3 separate regions of the Homo sapiens genome follow, and regions 2 and 3 are each linked to region 1. The links are contacts of gene promoters, found by promoter capture Hi-C in blood cells and fetal thymus (Javierre and others, 2016). All regions are on one chromosome and are shown on one strand. The core of a region is centred on a gene start or on the middle of the fragment in contact, and the rest is flanking DNA. Distances in the headings are between cores, read along the strand shown. Region 1 holds the start of LRRC27 (leucine rich repeat containing 27). Region 2 overlaps INPP5A (inositol polyphosphate-5-phosphatase A). Region 3 overlaps INPP5A (inositol polyphosphate-5-phosphatase A).

Region 1 (2,902 bases), core at 266-2,765:
TTTTTTTTTTTTTTTTAATTTTTGTAGAGACTGGGTTGCCCAGGCTGGTCTCCAACTCCTGGCCTCAAGCGATCTTCCCACCCTGGCCTCCCAAAGTGCTAGGGTTACAGGCGTGAGCCATCGTGTCCGGCCTAAAAAACATTTCTTACTGTGATCTCTTCACAAAAATAAAACGTAAATCCCCTCAAAGTGGATAGTCGTTTCTCCACATAATTATGTCGTTTCCTTTAAAAAGTGGAATCAGGCCGGGCACGGTGGCTCATGCCTGTAATCCCAGCACTTTGGGAGGCCGAGGGGGGCGGATCATGAGGTCAGGAGATCGAGACCAGCCTGGCCAACATGATGAAACCCCGTCTCTACTAAAAATACAAAAATTAGCTGGACGTGGTGGCGCGCGCCTGTAGTCCCAGCTACTGGGGAGGCTGAGGCAGGAGAATTGCTTGAACCTGGGAGGCGGAGGTCGCAGTGGGCCGAGATCGCGCTACTGCACTCCAGCCTGGGAGACAAAGCAAGACTCCACCTCAAAAAAAAAAAAAAAAAAAAAAAAGTGAAATCATGGCAGACTCCAGCTAAACTGTCCGGGTTTCCAGAGTGTTTCTGGGTGGGACAGAGGGTGCTACTTTTCATTATCAGTTGGATCCTGGAATGAAGGTGCACGGGACTCCAGGGTTCCACAGGACCACGCGAGCACCTCCCCTCCCGCCCGGTGTCATTTCATCTTCTTCCAAATTCTCAAAACCCTTCCTCAGGACACTCACTGCGTTTCCTCGCCCCCCTCACTCCTCCGTCCAGAGGCAGCCTTACTTCTCCAAAGAGGACGCTCTGAGTCTGCGTTCCCCTGGCAGCAAGTCCTGAGGCAAGATTTGGGGACAAGCAGCTCCTGTGGGAAGTGGCTCCAGGAAGCCCCAGGAGAGACGCGGGGAGTGAGCCCAGCGGGAAGGACAGGCAGCGAGGACCGCTCCAAAGGTGGTGCCTCAGCAGCAATTCTTTTCTGCTCGGCTGTCCTCGAGCAGCCCCGCCCGCCCCGGGCCCTCCGGCTCCCCAGACGGCACTTAGCATCCCGCTCTCTTCCTTCCCCTCTGTGCCAGGCCGGTCGCCCCTCCAGACCCTCGCGGTCTCTACTTGCCCGTCGACCACCACCCCTTCAAGGCCGCGGGCGCGGAAAAACGGATGCTACCGTTGGCCGCGTGCGTGCGCAGGCGCACCACCCCCTGCCACCCCCGCGCAGGCGCACCACAACCCCCCCACCGCAAGCGCAACCCCCCGCCCCAGCGCAGGCGCACCACACCCCGCCCCCTCCCGGGCAGGCGCACCACACCCGACCCCCTGCCGCGCAGGGGCACCCACACCCCGCCCCCGCACGCAGGCACAAACCCCCACAACACGCACACCCCCGCGCGCAGGCGCACCACACCCCTCGCGCAGGCGCATCACAGACACACTCGCGCTCAGCGTGGCGCCTGCGGGATTCCGTACCGGCGTCTCCATGGCGACCGCGTTGGCTGGGTGGCCTCCATTGTCGGGCTGCTGCTCTCAGCGGCGGGGCTCGCCAGCGCTTCAGTGGGCGGGGACGCGGCAGGTGAGACGGGGCGGGTACGGCCAGCTCGCTGAGCCCTCGAGGCGGGCGGCGGCAGGAAGGTGGTGCCTCGGCCCGTCGTGCCCTGTCGCCTAGCTCCAGCCGCGATGCTGACCGCAAAGGCTGCCCTTCTGAGGCCTGGAATGTGAGGCCCAGAGCGTCGGACCCAACTCAGCCTCGCCCGGATGGGGAAATCGAGGCAGGGAGCGGGGGTGGGCGTGCGTGGGGATCCCTTGAAGGCAGCCTCGGAAACCCCACGGAGCCTGCGCTGCCTGGGCCCTGTGTGAGTCCAGGCTGTTGTTTCACTTCTGGTTTTAAGATACTTTCCCTGTTCTGAGGTTTGAAGCCTCCCCTCCTCTGTTTTAAGTTCCGTGATTCGGAGAAAACAAGTGAACTGACCGTGAAAAAGCCCGCGGGCTTCCATGGAATGCAGGCTGCCTGGGGTTGAACCCTGCTGGGTCCCGGTGTCGCCTCTACCCCCCAATTAACTGCGCCCCTGGAACAGTTCCCTAACTGATCTGCGCCTCATATGCCAATCATTGGGCTGTTGAGTGACTTGAATTAGGTGAACTGATGCATTCCAACGTTGATTCTTATTGCCGAATAAATTGTTTGGAAATTGCAAGTGGAAGTGTGCCTCGCTGAATGAGATTTTGGTGAACAATACTTCTGAGTAAAAGTGTTGCTGGACAACGAAAATTCGAGATTAATTTAACAGGTTTTTCCCCGGTGCTTAACTGGGTGTAAGCCAGACTTAGTTCTGGTCACTGGGTCAAAATGGTAAACAAAAGACAGGCTTCCTGGCCTCAAGAAACTAAAAACATAGTTCAAATGGCACAGAACCACACCAGAGGTAAGAAACAGTGCAAATTTCCACCCGCCCCTAGTCATTTCATGGAAGCGTTGCAGTTGATTTACAGGCTTTGAAATGTTCCGATCTGTTTACATCCCTAAAATGATCATTACTATTGTGCGCCTTTGCGTTTTCCAGGAGTTAAATCTTGGAACTCCATTGTACAAAGTGAGAGCAGAGAATTTTAATCTGAACCTCTTTGTATTCCTTTTTTTTTTTTTTACATGTTTAAAAGTCAAATTTTTGCTACTGCTTAGGAAAAATGATAGCTTTTAAAGCAAGTTACATTACAGTAGATCTGCCACACAGCTATTCTGTTTTGCCTCGGTATAATTAGTTGCTTCTACGTTTCCCTTTCCCGTGTCTCCAGGTGACTCCAGACCAAGGAGGATGAGCTGCTGTCCCTGGAAGAGAACGGATGGAGGGAAGCAGCTCCTACGAAGTTCCCTCTGTGGCTGCTGCTGATCTGGAGG
Region 2 (2,902 bases), core at 102-2,601, 340 kb after region 1:
ACATGAATCTTGGGCTCTTGGAAAAGGGGAAATAATGGGGTTTGGGAGGCATTTGCAGGTTATTCATTCGCCGCCATGCACCAATTCTCCAGTGATTCATCCGCCTCACCAACATTTATTTATCCAGCAAATTCCGGAGCTTTGACCTTTTTGCTAAGTACATTGAACATAAGTTGGAGTGGAGATCTTTCAAGTGTAACTTTTACAAGTATTTGTTATTTTTCCTTATTTCTAGGCAACATTAAACAAAGTTATTCAGTTTTTTGAGTGTACTGGAGTCTGCCGGCCTTGCAGGGTTGGTGTGGTGGTGAGGGACTAATGGGCTCCTGCAGCCCAGCCCCACACTTGACTTTTGAAAATTCCAGTGGCAGATCCCAGGCTCAGGTGTCACTGATCCTTTCTTAGGTGAAATGACACGAGAGCCTCACGTTCCTGCCATGGGCTGATGGCCTCGGCCTCCTTTCAGTTGAGGCTTTCTGTTGGTGGTTAGGGGGCAAAGTGACGCCCTGTAACTTATTGATGCTGCCATGGAAAAAATATGGAAATGAAGCAGAACATGAGTTTCTCAGAAGCACATTTGACGGACTTCTTTTGGCGAAAATCAGAGCACTTCAAATCCTGTAACCTCAAACTGTTTCACTTTTCAGAGGTTATATAATAAAAAGTTAAGTGATTGATTTTATAGTTCAGTAGGGAGTGATGAAATTCTTGATCACTATCCATAATGGCTTTATTTTAAACAGTGGGCTAGAGATTTAATTAAAGCATGATCAGGGAAATGAAAAAATGTTGATATTTCTCCTCAAATTAAACATGAATTTGCACAGGGAGCATTAGAAGGGCTTATCATTCCTCCTGATGTTTTTATTCTCTTCCGTAGGATTTAAAAGCTTGCGGCCCACTTCACCCCTCTCTGAATAGCTCAGGGGGCTTCAGCCCCTGTTGACCGTGCTCTGGGTTTGGTCCATTTCTGTGGCTTTCTTTAAAAACTGCCGAGCTCCATCGCACGACCACCACTGCTGGCGTTTATTGAGCGTGTACTGCTTGTGAGGCTTTGTTCTGGGGGATCATTTCCCCACTTTATCTTTGGGGTGCCGGAGACACAGGAAGGTTAAGAAACAGCCGGTGAGGCCGGGCATGGTGGCTCACTCCTGTAATCCCAGCATTTTGGGAGGCCGAGGTGGGTGGGTCACGAGGTCAGGAGATAGAGACCATTCTGCCAACATGGTGAAACCCCGTCTCTACTAAAAATACAAAAAATTAGCCAGGCGTGGTGGTGGGCGCCTGTAGTCCCAGCTACTCGGGAGGCTGAGGCAGGAGAATGGCGTGAACCCAGGAGGCGGAGCTTGCAGTGAGCAGACATCGTGCCACCGCACTCCAGCCTTGGAGACAGAGTGAGACTCCATCTCAAAATAAACAAACAAACAGCCGGTGAGTAGCACCAGCTTGTGTGAAGCTGGGAAGTAGCCCCGTGAGCGCCAGGTGTTGCCGGGCCAGGCCTTCCCTGTGAGGCGGGTTCCCTGGTGCCCACTGTGGCCTACTCTGAGGGGCACAATGCAGGCTCCTATTCTTAACCTCAAGGCTTTCTATGTAGCACGTCCTCACGGGACCACAGAACGAGAGGGAGCTGGGGGTGTGGTGGAGGAGTGGCAAGTGACAGGGCAGAAACAGCTGCTCGAGGAGGCCCCGTGTTCTCCTGGGGGACCGTCGGTGACATTTCAGCCTGGCTTAGCTGCGTCCTTGAAAGTGGTTCTGCTTCTCTTACGTGCTTGCAGACACCATTCATGTGTCCTTAGTCTGACAGTGACTTGGTCAAGCTTGGAGGATGTGGGGCCTGCCTGTGCGTGCCCCATGGGCAGAGAGGGCGGGCGCGGTTCGTGCTGGACTCTAGATGTGCAGCTCCAAGTGAGATGTGGGTAGATGCCATTGGGATTTTGGCGTGAGCGTGGACCTGGGTTTCTGGAAGGGCATTGTTCCCGTGTCCCTGTCCCCACTGTGGCCTTGCTGAGCCCCCAGGGAGCCAGGACCCGCTGGTGACTGCTCCCTCTCTGTCCTCAGGGTGCAGCCCTGCACAGCCCTTCTAGCCCTCTCAGGTCTTTCTTTTGTCCAAACTCTTATCTTCTCTTGGGTCCCCAGGGTCACCAACCTCTTTGCAGAAAATCCCTCTGCAGCCACTGACCCCACACCCCCAGCCCCCATGCCCTCACTGCACACGTTCTCAGCCCCCATGTCCTCAGCTTCCAATCCCTAAACCCCACGTCCTGAAACCCACACCCTCAGCCTCCACCCCCAAGACCCTACACCCTCTGACTGCGCACTCCCAGAACCTGCACCTGACCCCACACCCCCTGACCCCACCCCCCCGACCCCACACCCCCTGACCCTACACCCCCTGACCCCACACCCCCTGACCCCACACCCCTGACCCCACATCCTCTGCATACTCCCAGAACCCACACCTGACCCCACACCCCAGACCCTACATCCTCTGTGCACTCCCAGAACCTGCACCTGACCCCACCCCCCCGACCTCACACCCCCTGACCCTACATCCTCTGAGTGCGCACTCCCAGAACCCGCACCTGACCCCCACACCCCCTGACACCACCCCACAGCCCCCATCTTCAGCCTCTCCTCTGCTGTAGTCCCCAGCCCCTGGCTGGCTTGCTTCTCAGCACAGCCCTGGCCCAGAAGCAGGAGGACACTGTCAGCCCCTCCTTGCTGGGGGGAGAGTGGTTGGGGCACACCTGTCCCCTGCCCCTCTGCTGCCCACAGCACAGCTAAGTCTTCACCCTGCCTGCGCGCATCCCTGTGGCCTTCTGGGAGGTCCCAGTGGGGAGCCTGTCTTCTCCCCAGAACACCCAGTCTCCCTTTGTGCCGGGTCACCCCTGTGAGCAAACAG
Region 3 (2,902 bases), core at 196-2,695, 290 kb after region 1:
GTTTGCTTGTGGGAATGAGGATAAATTTTAAAACAGGATATAATGTTGTCTGTCATGCAAATATAAAATGAATAGGTACTTATTCACTTTAAATACCTATTTTAAAAATAGAGTTTTAAATTGAGATAATAAATGTTGTTTATTTATCAGGGAGAGACCCAGTAAGATGTAGAACTGGTTCAGGGAAGAATCCAGAATGTAGGCAAATAGCTTCTCCCATCAGCAGTACTGACATGAGTGTGCTTCACGGATGCAAGGCTGGCACTGTCCACAGGGTCATGATCCATCACATCTGCTGGACATTGTGCATTTCTGTGGTCAAGAATCATTTCCATCATCATCAGCTTTTAAACTCACAGAGTTGCAACATAGCTCAGAGACAACTAAAGGTAGAGATAACCCAAATAGGTGAGCTAAATGGAGGCACTCTCATTATTGCTCATTTTAAAGTCTTTCACAGTTTTTCCTGATGGTAATTTTAAGAATGATGTGATAGGCAGTGTCTGTTTCCAGCTAACATGGAAGAAGAGTGTATTAGGCCATTCTTGCTTTGCTGTAAAGAAATACCCGAGACTGGGTAATTTATGAGGGAAAGAGGTTTAATTCGCTCACGGTTCGCAGGATGTGCAGGAAGCTTAGTGCTGGCACCTGCTCAGCCCTTGGAGGCCTCATGGAATTTTCAGTCAGGCAGAAGGCAAAGGGGGAGTAGCCATGCCACACAGTGAAAGCCAGAGCAAGAGAGAGCGAGTGGGGATGAAGTGCACACACCTTCAAATGACCAGACCTCATGTGAACTCAAGAGTAAGAACTCACTTATCACCAAGGGGATGGCCCAGTCCATTCAGGAGGCATCTGCCCCCATGATCCAAACACCTCCCACCAGGTTCCTCCTCTAACACTGGGGACACATTTCAACATGAGATTTGGCCGGGGACAAATATACAAACTGTATCATTCTGCCCCAGCCCCTCCCAGATCTCATGTTCTTCTCACATTTCAAAATACAATCATCCCTTCTCAATAGTCCCCCCAAAGTCTTGACTCACCTCAGAAGTCCCATGTCTGATGACTTCTCTGAGACAAGGCATGTCCTTTCCACCTATGAACCTGCAAAATCAAAAACAAGTTATTTTCTCCCAAGATACAATGGGGATATAGGTATTGGGTAAACATTTCTGCTTCAAAAGGGAGAAATAAGCCAAAAGAAATGGGCTATAGCCCCCAGGCGAGTTTGAAACCCAGTAGGGCGGCTATTAAATCTTAAAGCTCCAAAATCATCTCCTCAGAGTCTATGTCCCACACTCAGGGCACACAGGCTCAAGGGGTGGGCTTCTATGGCCTTGACCAGCTCTGCCCCTGTGGCTTTGCAGGGTTCAGCCCCCAGGACTGCTCTCATGGGTTGGAGTTGAATGCCTGTGGCTTTTCCAGGCACAGGGTACAAGCTGCCAGTGGATATACCATTTTGGGATCTGGAGGATGGTGGCCCCCTGCTCACAGATCCACTATGCAGTGCACTGCTGGGGACTCTCTGTGGGAGCTTTAACCCCACATTTTCCCTTGACACTGCCCCTATAGAGGTTCTGTGAGGGCTGCACCCCTGCAGCAGGCTTTTGCCTGGGCACCTGGGTTTTCTTATACATCCTGTTACCCAGGCTGGAGTGCAATGGCATGATCTCAGCTCACTGCAACTTCAGTCTCCCAGGTTCAAATGATTCTCCTGCCTCAGCCTCCTGAGTAGCTGGGATTACAGTCATGTACCACCACACCTGGCTAATTTTTGTATTTTTAGTAGAGACAGGGTTTCACCATATTGGCCAGGCTTGTCTTGAACTCCTGACCTCAAGTGATTCACCCACCTCAGGTGCTGGGATTACAGGTGTGAGCCACTGCACTTTGCCAGCATTCTTCACTCTTGCATTCTGTGCACCTACAGGCTTAACACCTGCATTTTTCAAAATGGCAGCCTGGGCTGTGTCTGGGGCCCTTTGAGCTGAGGCTGGAGCTGGAACAACCTAGATGTGGGGAGCACTGACCTGAAGCTGCACAGGACAGCAGGGTCCTGGGCCTGACCCATGAAACCATTCTTTCCTCCTAGGCCTCAGGACCTGTGACAGGAGGAGCTGCTGCAAAGGTCTCTGAAATGCCTTCAAGGCCTTTTTGTCATTGTCTCGTCTGTTGGCACTCGACTCCTTTTTAGTTATGCAAATATCTCTAGCAAGTGGTTGCTTTACAGCCTTTTTGATTTTCTTTCCTGAGAAAGCTTTTTCTTTCTTTGCTATGTGGCCAGGCTGCAAAGTTTTCAAACTTTTGTGCTCTGCTTCCCTTTTAAATGTAAGTTCCAACTGTAAGTCATTTCTTTGCTCCCACATCTGAGTGTAGGCTGTTAGAAGCAGCCAGGCCACATCTTTCTTGAGCACTTTGCTGCTTAGAAATTTCTTCCATCAGATACCCTAAATCATCACTCTTTGCTTCAAATTTCCATTGATCTCTAGAGCATAAACAGAATGCAGCCAAGTTCTTTGCTAAAGCATATCATGGGTTATGGGAATATTAATATAATTTATGCCAATAAACTTGAAATTTTATATGAAAGAAACTTTTTTTTTTGAAAAACAAAAGTATCAAGAAGAAATAATGAACTCAATAGTCCTATATCTATTCAATTAAAAATTTGCCCATTACCTTTCCACAAAAACCCTCCCAGCCCAGATGGCTTCCCTGGTGAATTCTATATTTAAACAAGAAACAACAGAAATTCTACAGAGCCTTTAGAAGAAGACTGAGTCACAGATGATACTTTTTGAATTATTCTTTGATATGAACATTAGAAAAATTCAAACCAACATTCCCCATGAAAATAAAGGCAAAAATTATTTTCAATGTTGTAAATCAAGGGATGCAA

The links. Contacts are between HindIII fragments. The CHiCAGO score rates a contact against its expected background, and 5 or more counts as called.
Region 2: a contact is called between a fragment that was not itself captured here and the fragment with the promoter of LRRC27 in region 1, in 1 of 17 cell types (M0 macrophages). The highest score is 6.5, in M0 macrophages.
Region 3: a fragment that was not itself captured here is called in contact with the fragment with the promoter of LRRC27 in region 1 in 1 of 17 cell types (total CD4 T cells); the score reaches 5.1 in total CD4 T cells.

Annotation. Positions count from the first base shown.
Region 1 is chr10:132,330,678-132,333,579 of GRCh38, forward strand. It overlaps LRRC27 (leucine rich repeat containing 27), which reads left to right and starts at 1,516. Exons shown (of 11, transcript NM_030626.3): 1 at 1,516-1,579; 2 at 2,800-2,902. The coding sequence starts at 2,848. It also overlaps a transcript of STK32C not described here. RefSeq lists an enhancer at 799-1,333 and a silencer at 1,218-1,337. The HindIII fragment of the contact is 6,954 bases long and covers 1-2,902 here.
Region 2 is chr10:132,667,844-132,670,745 of GRCh38, forward strand. All of the region lies in intron 4 of INPP5A (inositol polyphosphate-5-phosphatase A), which reads left to right. Among named protein-coding and RNA genes, the nearest start is that of NKX6-2, 120 kb to the right of the region's middle. The HindIII fragment of the contact is 927 bases long and covers 889-1,815 here.
Region 3 is chr10:132,618,052-132,620,953 of GRCh38, forward strand. The region is part of intron 2 of INPP5A (inositol polyphosphate-5-phosphatase A); the gene reads left to right. Among named protein-coding and RNA genes, the nearest start is that of INPP5A, 82 kb to the left of the region's middle. The HindIII fragment of the contact is 1,626 bases long and covers 633-2,258 here.